4 separate regions of the Homo sapiens genome follow, and regions 2, 3 and 4 are each linked to region 1. The links are contacts of gene promoters, found by promoter capture Hi-C in human tissues and cell types (Jung and others, 2019). All regions are on one chromosome and are shown on one strand. The core of a region is centred on a gene start or on the middle of the fragment in contact, and the rest is flanking DNA. Distances in the headings are between cores, read along the strand shown. Region 1 holds the start of FOXL2 (forkhead box L2). Region 2 overlaps LOC124906290 (a long non-coding RNA gene). Region 3 has its middle 19 kb from the start of PISRT1. Region 4 overlaps PIK3CB (phosphatidylinositol-4,5-bisphosphate 3-kinase catalytic subunit beta).

The links. The method cuts DNA at HindIII sites, captures the fragments that hold promoters and counts their contacts. A contact is called where the count stands out against the background at its distance.
Region 2: a fragment that was not itself captured here is called in contact with the fragment with the promoter of FOXL2 in region 1 in 2 of the 25 tissues and cell types used here (H1 embryonic stem cells and IMR-90 fibroblasts).
Region 3: a contact is called between a fragment that was not itself captured here and the fragment with the promoter of FOXL2 in region 1, in 2 of the 25 tissues and cell types used here (aorta and pancreas).
Region 4: a fragment that was not itself captured here is called in contact with the fragment with the promoter of FOXL2 in region 1 in 1 of the 25 tissues and cell types used here (dorsolateral prefrontal cortex).

Annotation. Positions count from the first base shown.
Region 1 is chr3:138,945,386-138,948,693 of GRCh38, forward strand. It overlaps FOXL2 (forkhead box L2), which reads right to left and starts at 1,752. Exons shown (of 1, transcript NM_023067.4): 1 at 1-1,752. The coding sequence starts at 1,337. The coding sequence ends at 207. FOXL2NB (FOXL2 neighbor) reads left to right here and starts at 1,832. Exons shown (of 3, transcript NM_001040061.3): 1 at 1,832-2,079. The coding sequence starts at 1,980. RefSeq lists a silencer at 1,768-1,996. The HindIII fragment of the contact is 6,167 bases long and covers 1-3,308 here.
Region 2 is chr3:139,287,769-139,291,076 of GRCh38, forward strand. It overlaps LOC124906290 (a long non-coding RNA gene), which reads left to right. Exons shown (of 2, transcript XR_007096115.1): 2 at 1-3,308. Among named protein-coding and RNA genes, the nearest start is that of MRPS22, 55 kb to the right of the region's middle. RefSeq lists a silencer at 1,464-1,692. The HindIII fragment of the contact is 4,701 bases long and covers 1-3,308 here.
Region 3 is chr3:139,250,712-139,254,019 of GRCh38, forward strand. No RefSeq gene overlaps it. Among named protein-coding and RNA genes, the nearest start is that of PISRT1, 19 kb to the left of the region's middle. The HindIII fragment of the contact is 9,789 bases long and covers 1-3,308 here.
Region 4 is chr3:138,680,737-138,684,044 of GRCh38, forward strand. PIK3CB (phosphatidylinositol-4,5-bisphosphate 3-kinase catalytic subunit beta) reads right to left here. Exons shown (of 24, transcript NM_006219.3): 18 at 2,942-3,051; 19 at 1,231-1,309. Among named protein-coding and RNA genes, the nearest start is that of FAIM, 74 kb to the left of the region's middle. The HindIII fragment of the contact is 7,556 bases long and covers 1-3,308 here.

The DNA of each region.
Region 1 (3,308 bases), core at 502-3,001:
ACAGGAGGACATAAACTGAGGGGACAAAGAGGAGCGACAGGAGCTTAGGAAAGCGAAAAAGCACAGAGGGACCCTGGGCGCTGGCTCCAGAGGCGGGCCCAGAGGGTGTGAGGTCAGGCTGGCGGCGGCGTCGTCGGCTGCGACCGGGGCCGGCGTCGCGCGTCCCTGCATCCTCGCATCCGTCTGCACCGGCATGCGGTGGGCTCTCAGAGATCGAGGCGCGAATGCAGCGCGCCGGTCTTGCTGTCGTGGTCCCAGTAAGAGCAATGCATCATGGCGAGCTCGGGCTGCCGGGCACAAGCGAACTGCAGGCCCGGCGCACTGGTGGGCGCGGGCGCCGGGGGCGCGGCGGTGGCTGGGCTGGCAGGGCTGAGCTGGCCCGGCGGCGGCGCGGCGGCCCCGTGGTGCGGTGGGGCAGGCGGCGGTGCGGCGGCCGCGTGCAGATGGTGTGCGTGCGGATGCGGGTGGGGGTGCGGCGGAGGCGGGGGTGCGGCCGGCGGGCCTCCCAGGCCATTGTACGAGTTCACTACGCCGGGGGGCAGCGCCATGCTCTGCACGCGTGTGTACGGCCCGTACGAGGCGGCCGGGCCCGCCAGCCCCTTGACCACAGCGGCCGCGCCAGGGCTACCGGGGCCCGCGGCTGCAGCCGCAGCTGCTGCAGCCGCTGCGGCTGCCGCCATCTGGCAGGAGGCATAGGGCATGGGTGAGGGAGGCTGCGGTAGCGGCCACGAGTTGTTGAGGAAGCCAGACTGCAGGTACTTGGGGGGCGCCAGGTAGCCGTAGCCGTCGGCCCCGGCGCCCGCCACGCCGCACCCGCCTGCGGCGCCTCCGGCCCCGAAGAGCCCCTTGCCGGGCTGGAAGTGCGCGGGCGGCGGCCGGAAGGGCCTCTTCATGCGGCGGCGGCGCCGGTAGTTGCCCTTCTCGAACATGTCTTCGCAGGCCGGGTCCAGCGTCCAGTAGTTGCCCTTGCGCTCGCCGCCGCCCTCGCGCGGCACCTTGATGAAGCACTCGTTGAGGCTGAGGTTGTGGCGGATGCTATTTTGCCAGCCCTTCTTATTCTTCTCGTAGAACGGGAACTTCGCGATGATGTACTGGTAGATGCCGGACAGCGTGAGCCTCTTCTCCGCGCTCTCGCGGATCGCCATGGCGATGAGCGCCACGTACGAGTACGGGGGCTTCTGCGCCGGGTCCGGCTTCTCCGGGGCTGTCCCGCCGCCACCCCCACCGCCCTTGCCTGGGCTCGGCGGCGGCCCTTCTGGCTCCTTGACTGTGCGACCGGTCTCTGGGGCCAGCAGGGCCCCCGCCGCGTCCTCGGGCTCGGGGTAGCTGGCCATCATGACAAAGCCGGCGCGCCGCGGCCGGGCCGCCTCTGCTCTCCGCTCCAGGCGCTGGCGCGGCAAAGAGTTGGGGCGCACGAGTCCGCTTACGGCCAAGTCTCAAACTTCTGGAGACTGCGGATGCCGCCCGCGCTTGCTTGCTGGAGGCCTGTCGCTGCTCTCCCCTCTCCTTCCCCTTCCCCTAGGGAGCGGCCGGCGGGAGTGGAGCTCAGCCTCTGGCCATGGGGAGTCCGCCCAACAGAGAGGGGCTCCGGCCTCGCCGCCCCTCCCCGCTCAGGCCAGTCCCCGCCTTGGTGGGTTTTCTTTTCTGCGCTCTTCCCCTCCCCCCGCCCCCCGGTTTCCCGAAGCACGACCCGCGTCTCTGGCGGAGCTGCCTCCTGGAGTCCCTAGTGCGCCAGGAGCCTCGCTCTGTTCTGATTCGTATGGGCTCCACCGAGTTCCGCTTGCGTCAGGCGCCTTCGCCCCTATAGCGGGGCGGCCAGCCGCGCACGGGCGAGTTCATCTCCAAGTCACTTTTTGTAAACGCCCCGCACAGCCTGGACCGGCCTGCCCCCGCCCAGCGAGCCTCAGGGGCCCAGCCGACAGCCAGGCTCACGCGCCCTTGAAATCTGCCGGTACTCGCTCTGCGGGCTGGGCTGGGAGATGACGAGGACCCCGGTGGGGTCTGCCCGCACCCGGCCAAAGCCCAGGAAGCTCGGGCCCCAGCGAGGAAAGGCGCTCCAAGCCTCCTCGCGGCTTTCAGGTGAAAGAAAACGACTCCTTTGCTCTGCCGTTTGCTGCCGTCTTGAGGCTGAACTTCTAGCTCGGGGCTGGGGAGGGGCGAGACGGCGAGGGGGCTGGACGGGGTAGGGTGGGGAGAGCTGCTCTGAGGCTTTGGGAAAGTCAGCCCAGAAACGGGTGTGACTGTACGAAGAAGCCTCGGCCTGGCCTGTCCCTCGCGCTCTCAGAGTGACTGGGCTGGAATGGGGCAGGGGAGAGGATCTCTGGAAATAGTCGTCAGGGGCGCCGCCTGAATCACCTCTGCCTCTCCCTGCGTTACCAGTGGATCTAGGAACCAGGAATCCGTGTACTAATCCTACGGGGTTGGAGTGAAGGTTGGATGTGTGCTTTAACAGCACCAAGTAGATGCCCCTCAGCTATTGCACTAACACAGGCGGGGCTGTTGCCCGGGACTTTGCGGGACTGTGTATGTGTGTGCACAGGGGTCACATATGGAAGTCATGGAGAGGAGCTGTCCTTGAGATGGGTGAGATACCAGGTGCATGTGTGCTGCTCAGAAACACAGGTATGCACATGTACAAGGTGTGAGATTTGTATTTACGAGGTAAAACACACTTATACTGATAGTTATGTAATATGTTCATCAAGTATTAGAGTAAATGTAGCTGGTGGATATAGCATCTTCTCTTTTTCTCCTTTCTTACTTCTTTCCTTCCCCCCTTTCTTCCTTTCTTTCACAATTCTTCGATGCCTCTTTCCCTCCCAGTGTATGTATTTTGCCACAGACTGGGAAGACAAACATCAGGCTGAGGGAGGGACTTGTTCAAATCTCTCTCCTGATGAGACATTTGTTCTGATCTTTCTCCAAAGAATCAGGAGTTAGTTGTCACCTACCTTAAGCAGAATTCTGATGGGAATCCAATTATTTCAGCATGTACAGAGATTGTTTCAGGGAAAATCAGGTGTGCCTTTTAACAGTGTGCTCCTTAACAGTGCCTTTTAACTTGGCCTAAACAAAAAGTCTGCAGTCATAAAGTATGAGAGAGATGGCCAGTGTTTTGAATCCTCAAGCCCCAAACTCCTTGGTGCTGAGGAGGGGGGCAAGGCCACCTTATGGAGGAAGGTGGACTGAATGGATGTCATATAGCTGTGCATTAGTGATTGGCATGTCTGGAGTGGCTGACTCAATGCCTGTCACTGCCTCTTCCTCCCAGGCTGTTTAGACTCTGAGGGTTCTCCTGAAGCCCAAGG
Region 2 (3,308 bases), core at 400-2,899, 340 kb after region 1:
CAGAATTAGGATTTGAACCCGAGCAGCCTGGTCCCAGAGCCCATGTGCTGGAGCTACAATACCGATCCCTCTGGACAGACAGGTAAACGATGGTTGACCATGGGATCAGTTCAGAGCCTGGAGCAATCCCTGTGCGTGAAAGGCTCAGTGAGGACCTGGGCATGCTGTGGGCAGGGCTGCCTCTGTCCTGATGCTCCTAGCGCAGGCCAGGGTTCCTCTCTCTTCCCCACTGCTGGGCCCTGCCAGGCAGAGGGCTGGATGTGCCCCAAGAGGAGAACAAAACCCTGAGGAACAAGACTGAGCCCCCATGTTAGTTCAGTCCAATCTGATAGCATCAGAAGCACTAAGATGTTGGCTTGGCTCCTTCTACTTTTTTTCTTTTAAAGCTGTTTCAGAATTTCCTTTGCCCATATTTTATTTTTCATTTGAAAGAACTCCTCCCTGCTCCTGCAATCCACCTGGCTATATAATTCCTGGACTGAACATATTCTTACTTATGTGAGTATATGTGTGTGAACCTGAGGGTGCACTGGGGCCTGTGGACACATGGGGGTGCCTGTGTGTCTTTGCAGGCATCTGTGGTGTGCAGAGTGCCCACATGTGCCTGGGTGCATGCAGGCTCGGGTATACACACTTGGGGGTCTGAGTAGATGCTGCCTTGCTCCTGGATGGGCACTGACCCCTGACTGTGAACAGATGTGCTTCACAAGACCAGGCAGGGATTGCAGCTGTGTGGCTGCCAGAAGGCGGCCAGTTGTGGGGCTCAGAAAGGAGCCTGGAGCACCTTGACCCAGCAGAGGAGCACCTTACCCTCGGTGCTGCTGCCGGCCGGCTGGCCAGGACGGCTGCCTCTCCCAGTCTGTAATGCTGTGCTGTGGGGTGTGGGGGAGATAAGGTTGCCAAGCTGTTTATCAAGCCCTTTGAAACGATCTGGGGCTGCTGGCCAGGCCAGCAGAGGAAGCAGCACTTTATGGGCCTGACTCTGTGGTGACCTCACCACTCGGTCCTCTCTGCTCTTCTCCTGTGCCTCTCTGTCTTCCACTGTCCCATCCCCACGATGGAGCTGACTAAAAAAGGAGGTGCCCTACTCCTCATTCACTCACCTTATGGGGGAAGGAATAGCCCCTGGAGGGAGAGGGGGAGGAAGAGAGTAGTGGGAGCGCCTCTGCGTCCCTAGGCAGGTGTGGGCTGGAGTAGGAGGGAGGGAAGCAACGATGGTCTGTCAAGGTCCTGGCTTTGCTCCGCTCTGTGGTGACAGGGCAGGCCTGGTTTCCCTCCCAGCCCAAGAAGGACCCCAAAGTGAAGACAGAAATGACAGAAAGCAAGAGGACATGGTTAGGACATTCCCTATGTCGGCCCATCCATTTATGCCCAGGGCCTAGCACAGCCTTTGGCACATGGCAGGCACTAAAGACTATTTGATAAATATTGCTGAATGAAGAAGGAAAGAGCTGGAAGCTTGTTGGAGAATAAGGAGATGAAGAAGATGAAGGCAGAGAAATGGCCAGAGGGAGAAGCCAGGAGCCCAGCATTTGCAGGCCCTGAGATGCTACCCAGGGAAGCCAGTGATGGGGAGGCAGAGAGGGAGAGAAGGGAGAAAAGATAAAACAACAGTGGGCAGTGAGCAAGAAAATGGAAGAGGGAAATTTGCCCTCAGGTCTGGAGGCCTGGATTCTTTGGTGGGGGTGGGCTGTGTCCTCAAAGGAGAAAACCAGGTTCCTCCCATGTAGCTTCAGAGAAGTGTATCAAATCCGGTGGGGTTAGGGTGTGGGATTGGGACAGTGGCAGGCATCTGGATATGAAGGCCAGGCCTGCTCTGAGAAGAGAAGGTCTGTGCAGAGCAGGGTGCCTCATCATTATGTCACCCCATCATTGTCACCACATGTCTGCCATGGGGGTCCTGCCCGTCCATTCCTGCAGCGAGAGAAACAAGTTGAGGCTTTCAAAGGGGTTAGGGGGATAAGGGGAGGACACAGAGATGGGAAGGGACCCAGATGTGCCTGATGTCAGAGCCCAGGGGTTAGAAAGGGCAGGAAGGCTTCTTGGAAGAGGTGGAATTTGACCAGCTGAGATTTTAGTGACAGTAAATTGCATTATCTGGAAGCACCAGTTGGAGAAAATGAAGCCCCCTGTCTTTTCTTAGTCATGAGAGACATCCTGTCTTGGGCTGCTACGGCTGCCAGCCTGCATTAAGCTGCCTTTGGGCCCCCTGTGTGGAGCAGGAAAAATTAGAGCCAATCAATGCGATTTCAAGGCAGCAGCTCCTTCCCAGCAGCCCGTGGCCATGCCTGTTAACCAGCCCGCAGCCCCAATGGCCTGATACCACAAGCAAATGGCCCCTAATGGGGACCAGACCTCCTTTTGCCCTCCCACCTCCCTGCCTGTGTGTCTTTATGCCTGCGTGCTGAGCTGAGATCGTTGCTCCTGGGGCCCCTGTCCTGCCTAAGGGCCCAGGACCTACTGGGCTAGGCTAGGGGGTGGGGTGGGGGCAAAGTGGGGAAAAGAGCCCTGCAAATGGCCCCTATCCAGCAGGGAGCTGGACAGCTCCAGCCTGTAGGGTGGGCATGGCAGGGCTCAGCTTGGCCCCAGGCAGCTGCAACCAGGTCATCTGACCACTTTAACCCTACATCTCACTCTGCCCATTGGAAGATCTGGGTATTCTCTACCCACCCTTTGCCAAAGACAGCCTAGGGAGGCTGGATGCTGGGCCTGCTAGAATCTTCAGTGTGTGTTGCTCCTGACCAGGCCTTCCTCCTAAACTCCATTTTCCTGGCCTTGACTTGGGCCCTCATTGGCTGTCACCTGGGATTCTGCTTTTAAGCCCTCTGCCTCCTGCCCCCCTCCACCCTGCCGCTGCCAGGAGGCTTTCTAAAATACATCTGATGGGGTTACTTCCCTGCTTCACCATCCCCGGTGGCTCCCGGCTGCCTTCAGGGTGAAGGGTAAAGTCCTGAGCTGAAAGGGTCACTCCTGGGCCCTGTCCTGCCCACTTCTAGGCCTCTTCTCTTGAATGAGCCAGGATGAGGATGAGGTGAATGAGGAGCCCACCCACCTTGGGTGCAGAATTTAAGGGGGCACCAAAAAACTCAGCAATCAAAATAAATAATGTTTTAGTGCAATCTTTTAAAAACCAAAATTAATGAAAAAAAATCCATGATGAACAGAATATGAGTATTGACGAAGATGTGGACTGACAAGACGGGATCAGAGAGAGGGAAGTAAGGTGAATTGTGTAGGTGTGGGGCAGATCCTGTCTTTATTTAGCCCTGCCAGCCTCACCCTTGTGCTGGGTCTGCATCCAGATATGC
Region 3 (3,308 bases), core at 242-2,741, 310 kb after region 1:
CTTGATATAATCTCTATGGACTATTTATTATTTTTAAAGCAAATTTATTCTTAAAAATTATTTTTACCGCATATCAAGCAGAGAAAAATTGCACAGAAGAGCAACCTGATAACTGGTATCAAACAGCTGAAAATTGATCTACAAAACTTGAGGATCACAAAAGGTCACTTTTTGTGGAGTGAGGCTCCTTCTCCCTACCCTGAGAAGAGCAGGAGCCTGGAACTCTGGAGGCCTCAGAAGCTCATGGGGGCAAAGCCTGTTGTCTGCAGCTGCCCAGACACATCTGAGCAGACCCACCAGATCTGTTCCAAGACAGCAGCTCTGCCAACTGTATCAGCTCTGTCCCACCACAGGCTTGGCCTCGGGGACCTTCTCTGCGGCTGGTAAGTATATAACACATAGTGTTCAAAGTTTGGACAGCCCTATGTGGCCACCCCATTTAGAGCCTTGTCACTTTTAGGGCTTTGTGCACCAGCAGGCATGGATCCTCTACCCATGGAATTCTGACCTCCCAGGCCCAGGATCTCTCTGCCTCCTCCTGCTCCCTGACCTCCTCTTCATCCTCCCTCTTCTCTGCTTCTCTATTTCCTCCTCTTGCTCCTCCCCTTCTTCTCCTTTTCCTTCTCTCTCCTCCTCCCTCCTTTTTCCTCCTCTCTCCTCCTCCCTCCTTCTTCCTCCTCCTCCCCTCTTTCTCCTCTCTACCTCTTTCTCTTCCCCAACTCCATTTCCTTCTCCTCGTCCAGCCCCGGCCTCCTCCTTACTCCTTGACTATCTCCATGGATGTAGACCTTTAGAAAGGAACCTCATTTGCAGTTGACTCCAGGCAACTTCTCTTTCTTCATTTTTCCTACTGTGAAACTAAAATCTCTAGGGAGTAGGAAGTCTAGAACTCAAAACCCTAAGGCCTGGCTACCTTGCCTATGAAAAGCAAAGGCAGAACTCCCTCGGTTCCTTTGCTGCTACTCTCACTGCAGCCGAGGTAGAGATAGGCACCCTTAGTTTCTCTTTCAGTTCTTTGCCATGCTACTGCTGCAATCGTTGCCTTGAGTGTGTACTTCTGATTGCCCAATCCCACCTCCCCATTGGCACAAGGCTGTTCCCAGCTGGGCCCAGGCCTGCCCCTTTGTCCATTGTAGTCTGACCCCTGTCCAGTCACTCAAGATAATGTCCTTTTCCTGCATCTGCCGCTTCATCTAGCCTCTTCTGGGGCTCTGAGGGTCTGTCCTGGCCCTGGTGAATATTCAGGGCATGCTGGTAAGGGGGAAAACAGGGGAAGAAGAGAAAAGAGGGACCAAGCTGAGTGAAGGGGGCCAGCTTGGGGACACCCCTCAGCCATGGGGCCTCTGTCCTTTCCTTCCAGGACTGAGAGATAGATAGCCCTGACAACTCTCGAGATGCTTGAGGAAGGCCTCTCATGTGGGTAGAGGAGGCATGTCCTTGTTTAGTGAAGTTCAGGGCCTGAGGCTGTTGACCCATCTGATGCCTGAAAATCTAACCCGAGATACTCAGTCCTTTGGGGTAAGGCCTGCCCTCTTAGACATAACCATCCTGAGAGGGGGGCGGACGAAGCTGTAAGCCCTCTTGAGGAGTAGAATATTATACTTCTGAGATTTCCACCAAGCCAGGGCACTGATGGGATCTGCAGAGGTGAAATGAGCCAGGGTTATGGCTCTGCACTTCAGAGACCTGAGGTGGTCAGAACTCTGGATCAGTAGTGAAGCCCTGGCTATTCATCTCCATGAATAACTGCCTGATGATCTTGGCTCTAGGGGTCTGTTCTGTGGCCACCCCCACTGGGAAGCAAGCCTCAGGGTTCCTTCTGACCCCAGGTCCTTGAACCTGTCTCAGCATAGACCATACTGTTGGTCCTTCCAGCTCACTCCACAGGGCACACAAGGACTCCTCAGAAGACTCAGGGGTGGTGGCTCTATTTACCATTTTATGCCCCCCAAGCCTGATGCAGGCTCTGGTCCCCAGTAGGTCAACAGGTGTTGGGGGGCTAAAGGAACTCAGCTGTGCACTGAGCCCTGAGCCATGGGAAACACAGAGTAGAAGCCCAAAGTGTGGTCCCCGGAACCAGGACAAGTGCCAGAGGGAGTGCCTTTTCACAGGTGTGGCCCTTTCAAAATGCTTGGCCTTCTTCCACCGGAGGCCAGCCCAGCCCCTCTTCTGGGGACAGCCCCGGCAGGGTCCATGGGAACATGAGGCTCCCGGCTGTTGTTTGTCTCAGCTAATCTCAAGAATGCACTTGTTTTCCCTTTTGGTTTGGGAAGTCCTCAGCAGCTCCCCTTCATGTCGATAGTGCTGAGGGTAGAGGCCGTGGGAGCCAGAGGGCAATGATCCTGGCTTGCTCTGTTGCTGGCTTGCTTTCTTTCCAACTGTTTCTGTTACCTCCGGCCTCCATTTCAGCTTCTCCTTGAAGTTTCTAGCAACCCTGGAAAGAAACGTTCTGAATTTCAACACTTCAGCCAGTCTCCTCACAGTAGGGAGTACTTGGGCAGGTGTGATCATCTCTATTTTACAGATGAACCTGGAGCTCAGAGAGGCTAAGTTAATGCTCATGGACACAGCAAGTGAGAGCAGAGCTGGAATAGAACCCAGCACCTCCCGCCGCCCACCCCGGCCCTCCACTCCAAGCTCCAACTCCAGGGCACCAATCTCACTTGGCAGCTACTGTCTGTTACTTGCCATCTCCTTCACTTGATTTCCTTGAGAGGAGTCCTGCAATATTCATCTTTGTACTCCTAAGCGTGGCCCAGTGTCCAGAAACATAGAAGATACTCAAAGGATATTTGTTCAAAGAATGAATGGCCTCTACTATGTGCCAGGAATTCTACTGGGTGATTTTTACACATGTAATCCTTGATCTTCACAACAACTCTGAGAGGTAGCTGTTGTCCCCATTTCATGAATGGAACCTCTAGGGTTCAGAGAAGTTAAGTAAGTTGGCAAAGATCATGGAGCTTGTAAAAGGTTGAGATGAGATTCGGATCCAAGTGGTTGGACTCCAGGACTCATGCTGGCTCCCAATGCACATGAGATAAAGCATCTGAAAAGAAAGGACAGTGGGCAGAAGAACTGCAGGGCCTTCCTTCTTGCTGATTTTGCAGTGATCTCTGACTGAGGGAGGTTGCAAAGGTTACCTGAGCTCCCTAAACAGGGAGACAATTCTCAGCCCCTCTCTGCACTCCGTCCAATCTCAAGCTCACAAACACATGTTTATTGAATGACTGAATGACCACCCCTGAAGTTGGCCATCCAGGCTCTTCACTCTCAGAGATGGTCTTTCTGGTTGCTCTTTCTTCACC
Region 4 (3,308 bases), core at 538-3,037, 260 kb before region 1:
GGAATGCAGTGGCATGATCTCGCTCACCGCAACTTCCGCCTCTCAGGTTCAAGCAATTCTCCTGCCTCAGCCTCCCGAGTAGCTGGGATTACAGGCTCCTGCCACCACAACCTACTAATTTTTTGTATTTTTAGTAGAGCTGGGTTTCACCATGTTGGCCAGGCTGGTCGTGAACTCGGGACCTCAGGCAATCCACCTGCCTCGGCCTCCCAAAGGGCTAGGATTACAGGAGTGAGCCACCATGCACGGCCCAATTGTTCTTATAATCTGTACTTCTTAATTGGAACTGACAATTTTCATGTTAGTTTTTTTTTTGTTTTTTTTTTTTGAGACAGAGTCTCACTTTGTCATCCAGCCTGGAGTGTAGTGGTGCAATCTCTGTTCCCTGCAACCTCCACTTCCCGGGTTTAAGCGATTCTCATGCCTCAGCCACCAGAGTAGCTGGGAGTACGGGCATGTGCTCCACGCCTGGCTAACTTTTGTATTTTTAGAAGAGACAGGGTTTCACCATGTGGGCCAGGCTGGTCTCAAACTCCTGACCTCAAGTGATCTGCCCGCTTTGGTCTCCCAAAGTGCTGGGATTACAGGTGTGTGCCAACATGCCTATTAGTTTGTTTTTATACTTTTTATAAAATGCCTTTTCACATCTTTTCCTTATGTTCACTTCTATGGGCTCTTTAAATATTTACCCCTTGTTCTGTTCATTGTGAATACGATTCCCAGTCTGAGGCTTGATTTTATGTTTCCTTTTTTCTGTCACGACACCACAAACCTCTTCCGCTCACTATCTACCCCTATTGATGGTGGCAAACTAAAAACCTGAGAATGCACCTAAACATTTTCCTCTCTTTTCCCTTGGTAGGTAGAGAAATCAATGTCCCTGGACTAAGTATAAAAAGGCACAGGACTTTCTCTGGCCTTGTCATTGCCATGACCCACAGTACATCTTTCAACACCATAGGTTGGAATGTAATTCTGGCTGTCTGTCCAAACCTTATTAAAGTTCAAACCTATTCCTTCTTTCTGGAATTTCAGTAACATGTGTAGTTTTAAACTGAAAAAGTTTAGGCAAGACAACATATTTGAAAGTACATTCTAAAGTGCTATATAAATATTATTATGAACAACAACTAAAAATAAGAACAAGAGGGAAGGAATTAACAAGAAATTCTAGATATTTTTGCTATGGGAAGACATTAGACTGAAAAAAAAAAAAAGACTAGATCTCACCGAAGATCCAAACCAGCTTCTTTCCAGAGTAAATCCATCAAGCGCAACATTTGGAGTGTCAACATATCCTGTCGTAAATCTAAGGGAAAACAAACTGCTTCATTACAAGTGCTTTTCCTTTTATGCCCTGTAACTCATTAATTCAAGACTAACTCAGAATTAACTAAAAACATTAACAAACTCTGTGCTAATATTTTCACTAATTTTATAACAAATATTACACTCTTTGGATAGCATGTCCCTGTGACATTATTTCAGACATTAAATTAAAAGATTTTTTAAATTGTTTGCCATGTGTAAGTTACATCCTATTGAATATAAGCATAGCTTCGGAGAACTTTTAAGATTTTCCTTCCTTGATTATATTCTACCTCCCGAGGCTGACAGCTGGCCCTACTACTCCCATAAGGCAGTGACTTTCTGCTTGCTATTCACAGGAGATTCACTGCGCAAAGCACAGTCACTTACTAGAGGTCCGAGAGGATAACACATGGGTTCAGGGGTACTAATTGTATGCTGTAATACTGTTTGTATTACACTGTATGTGTATTACATTAATTACATGGTTAATTTTTTCCTTCTTGCTTGCTTTTACCACTATACGGAGAGTTCTTAAGAATCACGTAAGTAACTGCATCACGAGGTCACAAAACTGTAATGGTTCAATTTATTATCATGTCTAAGGGTATTTTCAGGGAAGAGAGCACATGAAACTAGTGACATCCACATAATGACATTTGTATGGTCAAGTGACATTAAATGTTTAGCAAAACCCTATGAGTTCTTTTTAAGTTGTAAGCACATATTCTGATAAGCACATTTGCTTATGTTATCTCAATTCCTTTTAATAACCCTGACATACAGATGCTATAATTCTCAAGGATATGAAAAACCTGAAGCTCAATCAGTTTTCTGTGCCTTGTTTGTAGTCACATAACTAACAAGTCACCACTGCCTATTGGCTGGTATGATTACTTCAGAGGCATTTCCTTTACACATTTTGGGTCTGTTAGGTACTTTCATCAAAATACAAAACTATGGCAGCAAAATCAATATTGCTATCACTGAAACAAGATGTATGAATATATTACTGAAAATATCCTTGCCTGGGCACGGTGGCTCATGCTTGTAATCCCAGCACTTTGAAAGGCCGGGGTGGGTAAATCACTTGAGCTCAGGAGTTCAATACCACCCTGGTCAACATGGTGAAACCCCATCTTTACAAAAAATACAAAAAGTGAACCAGGTGTGGTGGTGTGTGCCTGTAGTTCCAGCTACTCTGGGGGCTGAGGTAGGATGATCACTTGGGCCTGGGAGGTGGAGGTTTCAGTGAGCCAAGATCGTGCCATTGCACTCCAGGCTGGGTGACAGTGAGACCCTGTCTCAAAAAAAAAAAAAAAAAAGTAAAAATAATATCTTGTATTTCATAAGCTTTTTAATCAAAGGAGTAGGCGCGTTTTGTATTTTGTAGGGGGAAATAAAAGAAGGTTCATTAGGACAGTATATTTAAGTGAATGGTATAAATCATTTTATAAGAGGGGGAAAAAAAAAGCATTTAGGACATGTTCAACTTGACTTTAGGACCATTAATAGCTACCTTCCTGGCTGCAAATTGTTACACACTTACACTACACATCACCTTTCAGATAAAGCAAAATGGCAACAAATGAAAAATTCTAAGAAATTTGATGTTAAAAATCTCAGTACTTACCATCACCATTTTTAAAAATCACTCCAACTGAATCCTCACCAAATACCTTGTTATTGTATACCAGCCACAAAGGCTTCATTTTGGAATCCATGTATTTGCACTTTTCAACACTGAAATCAAGTGGGGAAAATTAGTCAACTTCAGTGTAATGATACAGAAGATTATAATTTTACCACTATATACTAGGCTTGGGAAAACTCCTCACCTATTCCTGTCAGGTCTGCAGAAGAGTCAGACTTAGAAGAGTCCCACTTGGTAGAAAAGCAACCATGAGGACAGCCTTGGGTGGCATATACTAATGCCAGATAGGCTGGACTCAAAACCTAAGATTGGCCCTTCTCACCTTCTCCACTTAACATTCCTTCTC